Linked DNA regions of Homo sapiens: region 1 is linked to region 2. The links are contacts of gene promoters, found by promoter capture Hi-C in blood cells and fetal thymus (Javierre and others, 2016). All regions are on one chromosome and are shown on one strand. Each heading gives the region's core, a stretch centred on a gene start or on the middle of the fragment in contact. The rest is flanking DNA. Distances are from core to core; before and after follow the strand shown.

Evidence for each region. The method cuts DNA at HindIII sites, captures the fragments that hold promoters and counts their contacts. A CHiCAGO score of 5 or more calls a contact.
Region 1: a contact is called between the fragment with the promoter of LIMA1 here and the fragment with the promoter of TMPRSS12 in region 2, in 4 of 17 cell types (M2 macrophages, neutrophils, erythroblasts and 1 more). The highest score is 7.5, in M2 macrophages.

The regions. Positions count from the first base shown.
Region 1 is chr12:50,280,045-50,285,172 of GRCh38, forward strand. LIMA1 (LIM domain and actin binding 1) reads right to left here and starts at 3,476. Exons shown (of 11, transcript NM_016357.5): 1 at 3,376-3,476. It overlaps LOC107984505 (a long non-coding RNA gene), which reads left to right and starts at 3,577. Exons shown (of 2, transcript XR_001749144.2): 1 at 3,577-3,838. RefSeq lists a silencer at 3,387-3,696. The HindIII fragment of the contact is 1,384 bases long and covers 2,768-4,151 here.
Region 2 is chr12:50,840,391-50,845,474 of GRCh38, forward strand. It overlaps TMPRSS12 (transmembrane serine protease 12), which reads left to right and starts at 2,536. Exons shown (of 5, transcript NM_182559.3): 1 at 2,536-2,761; 2 at 3,452-3,647. The coding sequence starts at 2,575. It also overlaps the pseudogene RN7SL519P. The HindIII fragment of the contact is 6,106 bases long and covers 1-5,084 here.

The sequences.
Region 1 (5,128 bases), core at 2,226-4,725, 560 kb before region 2:
TTAAGGGGGAAAATAGATCCACACTTGTTATCAGAAGTACAAAAAAGTTGCATCTTTTTTTCCCCTAAAGATGAAAGTTCTTAGTTTCAGGGTAGTAGTATTTTTTTTTTTTTTTTTTTTTTTTTTTTGAGACGGAGTCTCACTCTGTCACGCAGGCTGGAGTGCAGTGGCGCGATCTCCGCTCACTGCAAGCTCCGCCTCCCGGGTTCACGCCATTCTCCCGCCTCAGCCTCCCGAGTAGCTAGGACTACAGGCGCCTGCCACCACGCCCGGCTAATTTTGTTTTTGTATTTTTAGTAGAGACTGGGTTTCACCATGTTAGCTAGGATGGTCTCGATCTCCTGACCTCGTGATCCTCCCGCCTCGGCCTCCCAAAGTGCTGGGATTACAGGCGTGAGCCACCGCGCCCGGCCCAGGGTAGTAGTATTAAGAAATTATTTAAAAGAACATCAAAAGAATGTAAAATTTTCATGGTATCATGTTAACTTCTTATGAGTGGACACAGGAAGTCTCTAGAAAGTTTTCACGTGTCAAGAAATCATCTGACATGCTGAATAATGGATTGCTTGTTAGGTCAAACTCCATCCTTTTTATGAAAAGAGGTCTTCAGTAGCACAATAATTTGACTGAGTCTTGAGGACTCTGCACCCAGCTTCAGAATAAACTCATCAGTATGGTCCTACCTTATCATCCACCATAGACTCTCAACTCCATAATCATTAAGTAGAAACTACTTCATTTACAACCACTGGTTTGTTAGTAACCTGAAGAGGCTGTGTTAAGTAACCTCACCTGGAGATTACTGTATGCAATCTAAAATGAAGTACCTTAAGTTTCTATCAAAAAACATACAGTGAAAGACAATAGCAAACTTAAAAAACAATTGCCTTTTCTAATGGAAATTACTAACTTAGGACTCGTTATACATTTTCCTATCTGCAGAAAGGGTACAATTCTAATCTAAAAGTCATCTATCTAATAGTGTATGGAATTAAGAATGCCTGAAACTAGTTTCACTGTCAATTTAAATAATAAATTCTTCCAATTTGTGGTTAGGTGCCCTATTATGCCAAAGATGTCTAATGAACTCCCACACTCTCAATATTCTTTTGTGTCTGTGTGTGTGTCTTTGATAAATTTTTTTGGTACGAGGGCTCTAAGTTAATTGCAGTTAACTGGTGAAAAATACCAGAGAAAATATAAGAATTTGAAACCTGAAGAAACACTAGTCAAAATTATACTTAAAAACATTTTTCCCCACCCACCTATCTACCCTGTCTTCCCCACCCAAGAAAAAAAGAAAGAGAAAAACATTTTGAGGGCATCTTAGCAGGAAAAAGTATCCCCTGTCACCAAGATGTGAATTGTTTTAGCTTCTGAAGCTTTCTTTTAGAATTATTAGGTTGAAATTTAGCCCCACCTTTAACCAGAGTCTGGAACAAAGCTTGAGTGTACCAAGTTAAAGAAAGTTATACAATGAGGTAATTTTTACAAAATGGCACTCCTTTGCTAATGTTGCCAATATACTGTTCTCTTCCCAGGGACTACCTGATAACAACACTTCCCAGCCCAATACAGAACAGTGGAAACAGATCCAACTATTTACTAAATGCCACATTAACAACAGGGTCTAATCCCATTTTCCATAGGCCATAGAATTGGAGGAAGAGAGGGTAAGAAATATGAAAGTGATACAAATACATAGATTGAAGAGAATCACTCATTATTACTCAGAGGTTTTTGTTTTTAAGGAAAAGCAGAAGAGAGAATTAAAAAACAAAACAAAACACCTATATTCCCTATGCTCCTACAGTACCCTGGGCTGACCTCTAGTATAGAAATGACCTCACTAATACCATAAATTGTATGTGGATCTGTCTAACCCATTTGATTTTAAGTTCTTTTAGGGTAAAGACGTTTGGCACTTTGAATCTACAGTAGGACTGACATGAAAGGCACTCAATATTTTGTCCAAAGAATGAAATAAGTTCCTAAACTAATTACCTAGTACATTATATGTTGTTCTATCAATGCAAAACAAGAAAACATATATGAACACACACTTTTTTTTGCCTTCTTTCACGCCAACTCTATAATTTTTTGAAGATCTATCTAAAACGTGATCATCCTGCACCCAGGTTATACCTCTACAGGAACTTAGAACATGTTGTTAGGGGTCATGTTCTTTTGTGTCTACATCATACCTCAGAAGAAAGGATTGGTGTTATTTCATGGCTCCTGAAATATTTAGCATTTGTGAATAGTATTGGTAACCAAGCAGATAAAAGGTACTGTGTTAAACCATTTAAATCAAGAGCAAAAGAAAGAATACTTAATGCAAAAGAAAACCTCTCCCCAAAATGGGCATTGCCTTAAAAACTGATAACTCCCTAATTACCTTTGACTAACCTGAAAAGTCAAGTCAATTGAACCATCTGGATTAGGCAGATCTGGATTAGGCAGACTTATCTTTTATTTTTATTTATTTATTTATTTTTTTGTAGAGACAAGGGTCTCGCTAAGTTGCCTTGGCTGGTCTCAAACACCTGGGCTCAAGCGATCCTCCCGCCTCAGTTTCCCAAAGTGTTGGGATTATAGGCGTGAGCCACTGCGCCCGTCCAAGGCAGACTTTTGAAAGCTGGAATTAGGTGCAAGACAATAGTAGTTCAAATATCTCTCACCAGGATCAGCTAAACCGTTCTTGCAAGCATCAGTAAGGAGGCTAGGAAGGGTGCCAGATGGTTCGTTCCTAGCAGCTACAACTTCAAGCTTTAGTATGTGTAGCCAGGGGTGTACAATTACCTTACATTAACACCAACATATGTCGGGGGCAAGTGCCAGCGATATATACACGATAGCGATTCGGGGATGACACATCGGCTGCAAGGACTGCTATATTCTCAACATTCCTCAAAAGGGTGTAAGTGTCTTAAACAGAGTTCAGCTGGCGTAATGGAAGGGAGAAAAAATCGAAAAGAGAGGGAATGGCTGAAAATGAAGGAAAAAGAACAGTTGAATATTACAGTATTTCCCTGGAAGGAGGGTATTTGGAGTTTTAATGAATTGTCACCTTCCTCCACCACACCAGAAAGTATACAGTTAGAATGCAGTGTTCTCGGTGGGAGAGGACGGGGTATTTGCAGCTCCCGCCCTTGGGCAGCAAAGGCTCAGCCCGACATAAGCACTCCCCACCCAGCGCAGGCCCCAGAAGTGAGGAAAGAACGGAGGATCAGCGTCCCTCGACCCCTTATCTCGAGGGGGAGGGACTCACACTCCTTGCACTCCCCCCGCCCCAAAAGTCGAAGGAGAAAGAGGGTGTGGAGAGAAGCCGGGGTCTTCCCGCACTCTCCGGTTGTGGAGAGAGAAGGCCCTTACCTGGCTAAAAGCCGCCTTTCCTCTGCGCTGCTACCAGCCCTGTCACAGGTCCCGGCGCTCTACCTAGCGCACCTGTCGCGACCAAGCTGCTAACACCTACTGCTCCTGCGGCCCCGCCCCGGACCCCGCCCACCGCCGCGGGGGCGCGCACGCCAGACAGCCTCCCGTGCGGCCTCGGGCTGAGCGTGCGCGCCACCGGCTACGTGCCCAGCGCTCGCGTCTGCTCCAGTCGCTCTGGCGGTGCGGGGCGCTGGCGACGGGACAGGGTTTTTGCTGCCCGGGGCCTAGTCTACCTCGGCACGCTTTTCTCTGAAGGAGACACGCACTTGCACGACGTGGGCCTCTGTGCAGCTCTACTTTGTCCTTAACTCCTCTGACTCAACGTTATCGCAGTTTGACTCTGGAGCCACTCAGGTTTTTCCTAAGCTCAACTCTAGCCAGCTAGGTTCCTGGTGCTTTGGGGGTAAGTTGTGTGCAGGGAGGGTGTTTTACAGGAGGCTGTGTGGTGTAGTGGAAAAAGCTGAATTAAGTACATTAATCCTGAAAACGGTTTGACAAGGGCAGATGACGTCCAAGTTCTCCAACAGCTGTTTTTACTCCTCCATTCAGAATAGGAGCTGTGCTAATGGTTTGGAGACCGTCAATTGGCCTAGCACTTGGCCATCCTGCCCCCAAATTCTTGTCCCAGTTCCGTGCCAGCTGCATGATGCCTTTTGATAGTATCCTTCTTTCCTGTACCTCAAGCATAGTAGGGTTTCAGACCACAAGTTTTCTGAAGCTTTTCGGAATTCATGCAGCTTGATGCGTTATTAGTAGGGGCTGCTCGTGGGAAAACGCTTGTAATTACACTTCCTCAAGAAGTTAATGAAAATGTGTGAGAAGAGAGATTTCCAACAGGTGATGAATATGCCAGCCAGTTATTCCCTTCTTCCTTCAAATATCCAGCCTAGACTGATTTCTGGATAGGTATTGTAGAAATAAAAATTTCAGACAAAACAAACTTAGATTTTGAATCGGACAACAGTCAGAACCAAAAGAGGCTCAGACACCCCTGCTCTAGCTGCCCAGGCATCAAACTTTATAGGCTGAACACGAAAGTAAAGAAATTTGATTGGCTACAGCTAAGCGTTTGCCTTATTTGGGTATGGTCACATGGGAGGTCCCTAATTATATAACCACTTGGCTGGTTGTCTGTTTGTGATTGGTTGAAACTCCATTCAAAATCAGGTACAAGGGGCCGGGCGCGGTGGCTCACACCTGTAATCCCAGCACTTTGGGAGGCTGAGGCAGGCGGATCCCCTGAGGTTAGGAGTTCGAGACCAGCCTAGCCAACATGGCGAAGCACCGTCTCCACTAAAAATACAAAAATTAGCCGGACGTGGTGGTAAGTGCCTGTAATCCCAGCTACTCGGGAGGCTGAGGCACGAGAATGACTTGAACCCGGGAAGTGGAGATTGCAGTGAGCAGAGATCTCGCCACTGCACTCCAGCCTGGATGAGAGAACGAGACTCCATCTCAAAAAAACAAAACAAACAAAAGGTGCAAGGAATACCTCTAAATTTTGGGTTGCTTTCTGGGTACAAAAACAACTCCAAACTAATGGCCTGCTACTTATTTTGCATTAACAGTATCAAGTATCAAGACTCCAGCAAAAGTGGCAGACAGCATGGGAATGCTAAAGAGCATACAATATCAATACAGGATAGTACTCCAGAAAATACGTTACCCTGCATGTGGCGTTCCCTCAATAGAT
Region 2 (5,084 bases), core at 1,286-3,785:
GAAACAAAAAATGTAATGGGATGAAGTTGGTTAAGCTAAGAGAGCTTCTGTGGACAAGGTCTCTTTTTCTGAGAGGAGAAATAAAGTCCTGCTTCTATTCTTAAAAATTAACAAAAACCAACAAAATTTTTAAAAAACAAAGATGGGAATAAAAGGTGAAGAAGTAGGCTGGGTGCGGTGGCTCACACCTGTAATCCCAACACTTTGGGAGGCTGAGGTGGATGGATTTCTTCAGGCCAGGAGTTTGAAACCAGCCTGGGCAATGTAGACCTTGTCTCTACTAAAAGAAAAAAAGTTGAGGAAGTGGAAAGTAGAAACTGTAATTGTAAACAACTTCTTGGGTGAAATTTTGCTATAGAGGAAAGTAGGGGATATAAAGTCAATTGAAGATTTTTCTAAGGTGGGAGAAACCAGATGTATTATCTGTTGCTGCGTAACAAATTATCCCAAAATGCAGTAGCTTAGAACAACAAAAATTTATCTCGTATTTTCTGTGGGTCAGAACTTTTAAGTGTAGTTTGGCTGGGTGTCTCTGACTTAAGGTCTCTCATGAGGTTGCAGTTAGGGTGTCAGCCAGCACTGTGGTCTCATCTGAAGGTGTGATCGGGGAAGATCTGCCTCTAAGCAGATCATGCGGTGTTGCATGATTCAGCTTTTCGTGGCTGTTCAACTGAGGACTTCAGTTCCTCAATGGCTCTTGCTGGCAGCCTCTCTACAGGGCCACAGGGCAGCTTACAACATGGCAGCAGCTTTACCTTAGAGCAACAGGACTGCAGAGAGTGCTCAGGACAGAAGTCACAATCTTTTTATAACCTAATCTTGAAAGTGGTAGCCCATCACCTCTACTTTCTATTTACTAGAAGTGAGTCACGAAATCCAGCCAACACTAAAGGAGAGGGAACTGACTAAGGCTGTGAATACCAGGAGACAGGGTTCATTGGCGGGCATTTTGTAGGCTACCTACCATACCAGAGGATATTTGTCTGCAGATAGGAGTGATCCCACCAAAGACAGGAAATGACAATGCAGGAGAGGAGAAAAGGCAGAGGAAATCCAGGAAGAAGACCTCTGCAGTTATTGATCCACTGCCTTTTTCATTTTATTTGGAGAGATGGGGTCTTGCTTTGTTGCCCAGGCTGGAGTACTGTGGCTATTCACAGGCATGATCTCACTACCAATCAACACAGGAATTTTGATCAACTCCATTTCCAGTCTGGGCCAGTTACCCCTCCTTAGGCAACCTGGTGGTTCCCCACTACCCGAAGGTCACCATATTGATGCCAAACTTAGTTGACCAGTTGACATAGCATACTACAGTCCAGAACTCCTGGGCTCAAGCAATCCTCCTGCCTCAGCCTCCTGAGTAGTAAAACTAAAAAATATATTGTTTAAAGCAGTGCTGTATAATAGAACTACAGGCATGTGCCACCGTGCCCAGCCCACTGCCTGTGTCACTGCTATTTGATGACTTGGCTGCATATACTTGCTTTATGAGTATGTTAAACCTCTACTATCTGTCATAGCAAGACCCGTCATCCTTATCACGTTGGCTATGGGTTTAAAAAAAGAAAAAAAAAGTCATCTTGCCTTGTTTACAAAGGCATACACAATCTGACCACATCTCACACACACAGAAATACACACACCCCAACTGTGTTTTTCTCCTCCTAATATCACCTTCCACTAAAATATCTGGGGAATAAGGACTTTGTTTCTTGTCAGCCCTCAGAGATCAGCTCATGCTGCAATTTGTTTCTCCAATATCACCTCCTCCACCCCAATTTCGGCACAGCTCTGAGACTCTGCTCCCTTCCCCACATGTTACCATGTGTAAGCCCCAAACTCATATACTCCTTTTATCTAATGCTGCCAACTGCACCAGCCTCGGAAGGATGGTATGAGCAAGGCAACTGTCCTTTTATTGACCTCTACGTTAACTCTCCACCACCTCACCAACTTCCCACAGCCCACACGGTCTTCTTATTACTGAAGGTGTTGGGTTAACAAAGGCAAAGTTCAGTATAGGTCAAGATAGGAATGACAGAACAATTTAAAACTGAACATTAGGTATCACTCTTAAAAACTCTGGGTTATGTTAAAGAAAAATTATTCAGTGATACTCATTAAAGCACAGCAAGGCAGACTTTATTCAGGACCATCCAGATAGGGATAGGGACCATGGCAATGGGATTTTGTAATGGGTAGAGGGACTGGGCTAAAATCCAAACAGAGCAGAGCCAAGGGAGAATTTACAGCCACGGAGCAGGAGAGACGTGTCAGTGGATGGAAAATTACTAAGAGGTAGCATCAGGAGTAATGGCATTCCGGCTAACCGACCTAACAGGATTCTTGCTGGACAGGCCAGGGTGATCAGACATCACCTGGGGGATAGTGGTGGATGAGGAAGCCGATCAGACCTTGAGGGTGAGGGGTTCTTTCTAAACTGACCTACCTATTCCTCGGCCGCCTCCCACACCTCCGGGCCTCACTCGCGCCTCCCCGCCAGGCCGTGCGCCCCGCGTGCCCAGGGCGGGTGGGAAGTACCTGCCGCCATCTTGCTCACCAGCCTCCAAAATGCGGCTGGGGCTCCTGAGCGTGGCGCTGTTGTTTGTGGGGAGCTCTCACTTATACTCAGACCACTACTCGCCCTCTGGAAGGCACAGGCTCGGCCCCTCGCCGGAACCGGCGGCTAGTTCCCAGCAGGCTGAGGCCGTCCGCAAGAGGCTCCGGCGGCGGAGGGAGGGAGGGGCGCATGCAGAGGGCAGTACCTGTTCGTGCCTGTCTCTGGGGAGCCTCTCTTACCTTTTCCCCACCGCTATAGTCTTTGAATTCGGGTTTCTCCTTTTCTGTTGTCCCAATGGCCTTTAACCAAAATTTTACATACCTAAGCAGTTTCTAGACCGGCTGTAATAACAGTAGTTGTAATAGTGAAATGACACATTTGTATTGTGAATCTGTATTTTCTCCTCAAAACATTCTGGGTTTTATCATCCCCATTTTATAGATTAATAAGTCAGGGGATAAAGAGTTGAAAGGGAGGGCTATTAGGTGACCATTTCATACTATAGTTGAGAAAAATTAGCCCAACAAGTGAAATGGTGAGCATTAGAATTTGCGGCTCTCGACTCACCGTTCCCAGGCTCTTTAACTGCTATTTCACACAGGGAAGAATGTGATACGTGGCCAAAAATTTTTATTTTTATATTTTTGGGGAATAGAGTTTTAAAATTAATGAATTGTGTTGACTTCATGTCTATTTGTAAGTAATCGATTATGGCATATTTGTCTTAACTCTCCAAGTTTCTTTCAAAATATGGGCGTGTCTCCGGTATGTTAGCTTGCTTTGTGTTTTTAACATAGGAATTTAAAGGATTGCATTAATATGTTCAGCTTAGGAAGTAACACATACTATAGATGCTCAGTCCAAATAATATATCATTTTTATTTTTAGATTGTGGAACAGCACCGCTTAAGGATGTGTTGCAAGGGTCTCGGATTATAGGGGGCACCGAAGCACAAGCTGGCGCATGGCCGTGGGTGGTGAGCCTGCAGATTAAATATGGCCGTGTTCTTGTTCATGTATGTGGGGGAACCCTAGTGAGAGAGAGGTGGGTCCTCACAGCTGCCCACTGCACTAAAGACGCTAGGTACGTATTCAGAACACAACTATTTTTATGCTCTTAGGGGATATTTTGAAGTGATAGAGGACCATTTAACTTCAGCCATTTTCAGCTAAGCTATGTTTGCAAATAGCCATAATGCCTTATATATAGTACAGTGTATTTGTTGAAAGGAATCCTTTATTTATTATTATTATTATTATACTTTAAGTTCTGGGGTACATGTGCAGAACGTGCAGGTTTGTTACATAGGTATACATGTCCATGGTGGTTTGCTGCACCCATCAACCCATCATCTAACTACATTAGGTATTTCTCTTAATGCTATCCCTCCCCTAGCCCCCTACCCAGGAATCCTTTATTTTTTACTTTTTTTTTTTTGAAATGGAGTGTCACTCTGTTACCCAGGCTGGAGTGCAGTGGTGCAATCTTGGCTCACTGCAACCTCCGCCTCCTGGGTTCATGCGATTCTTCTGCCTCAGCCCCCGGAGTAGCTGGAATTACAGATGCCTGCCATCATGTCCAGCTAATTTTTGTATTTTTAGTAGAAAAGGGGGTTTCACCATGTTGGCCAGGCTGGTCTTGAACTCTTAACCTCACGTGATCTGCCCGCCTCAGCCTCCCAAAGTTCTGGGATTACAGGTGTAAGCCACCATGCTCGATCATGGATCTTTTAAATTAGAGGCTGGTAAACTTCCTATAAAGGTAGTAAATATTTTACACTTTGAAGGTCATATGGTCTCTCTCACAATTGCATGAAAACCAGCACTGAAAATAAGTAATTGAATGAGTGTGGCTATAATCCAATAAAACTTTATGAACACTGAAATCTGAATTTCATATGTTTAACGTGTCATGAAATATTGTGGTTGATTCAGCCATTTAAAAATGTAGAGTAGGGCATGTTGGCTCATATTTGTTATCCCAATGCTTTGGGAAGCCAAGACGGGAGGATCACTTGAGGCCAGGAGTTTGAGACCAGCCTGGGAAATATAGCGAGACCCTGTCTCTATATTTAAAAAAATTGTTAATGTAAAAAACATGCTTTATGGACTGTATGAAAACAAGAGACATGCCAGATTTGGCCTTCACTATTAGACTCTTTGAAAAAGAGACTCTCTTTGCTTCATCTCCATTGACCCATAAAATCCAACTGCAGTCTGATTTTTGTGGCCAAATGCTGTTAAAGATCCACTTCCATGCCAAATCCAATGACTTCATCTCAGTTCCCATCCTTTTTGACCTCTACAGCCTTTGGCAATGTTGACCACATTCTCTTCTTGAAATTATCTCTTTTCTTGATTTCTAAGACACCATTCTCTACTTTTTTCTCCTGCTTCTTTGATGAGTCTTTGTCATCCTTTACATTGCAGTGTTTTCTAGAGTTTGCCCTCTGCCCTCTGTCATTCTGTACTCTTTCCTAGAGATGTCTAATCTACCTCTGTTTCAGCAATCACCATGTGC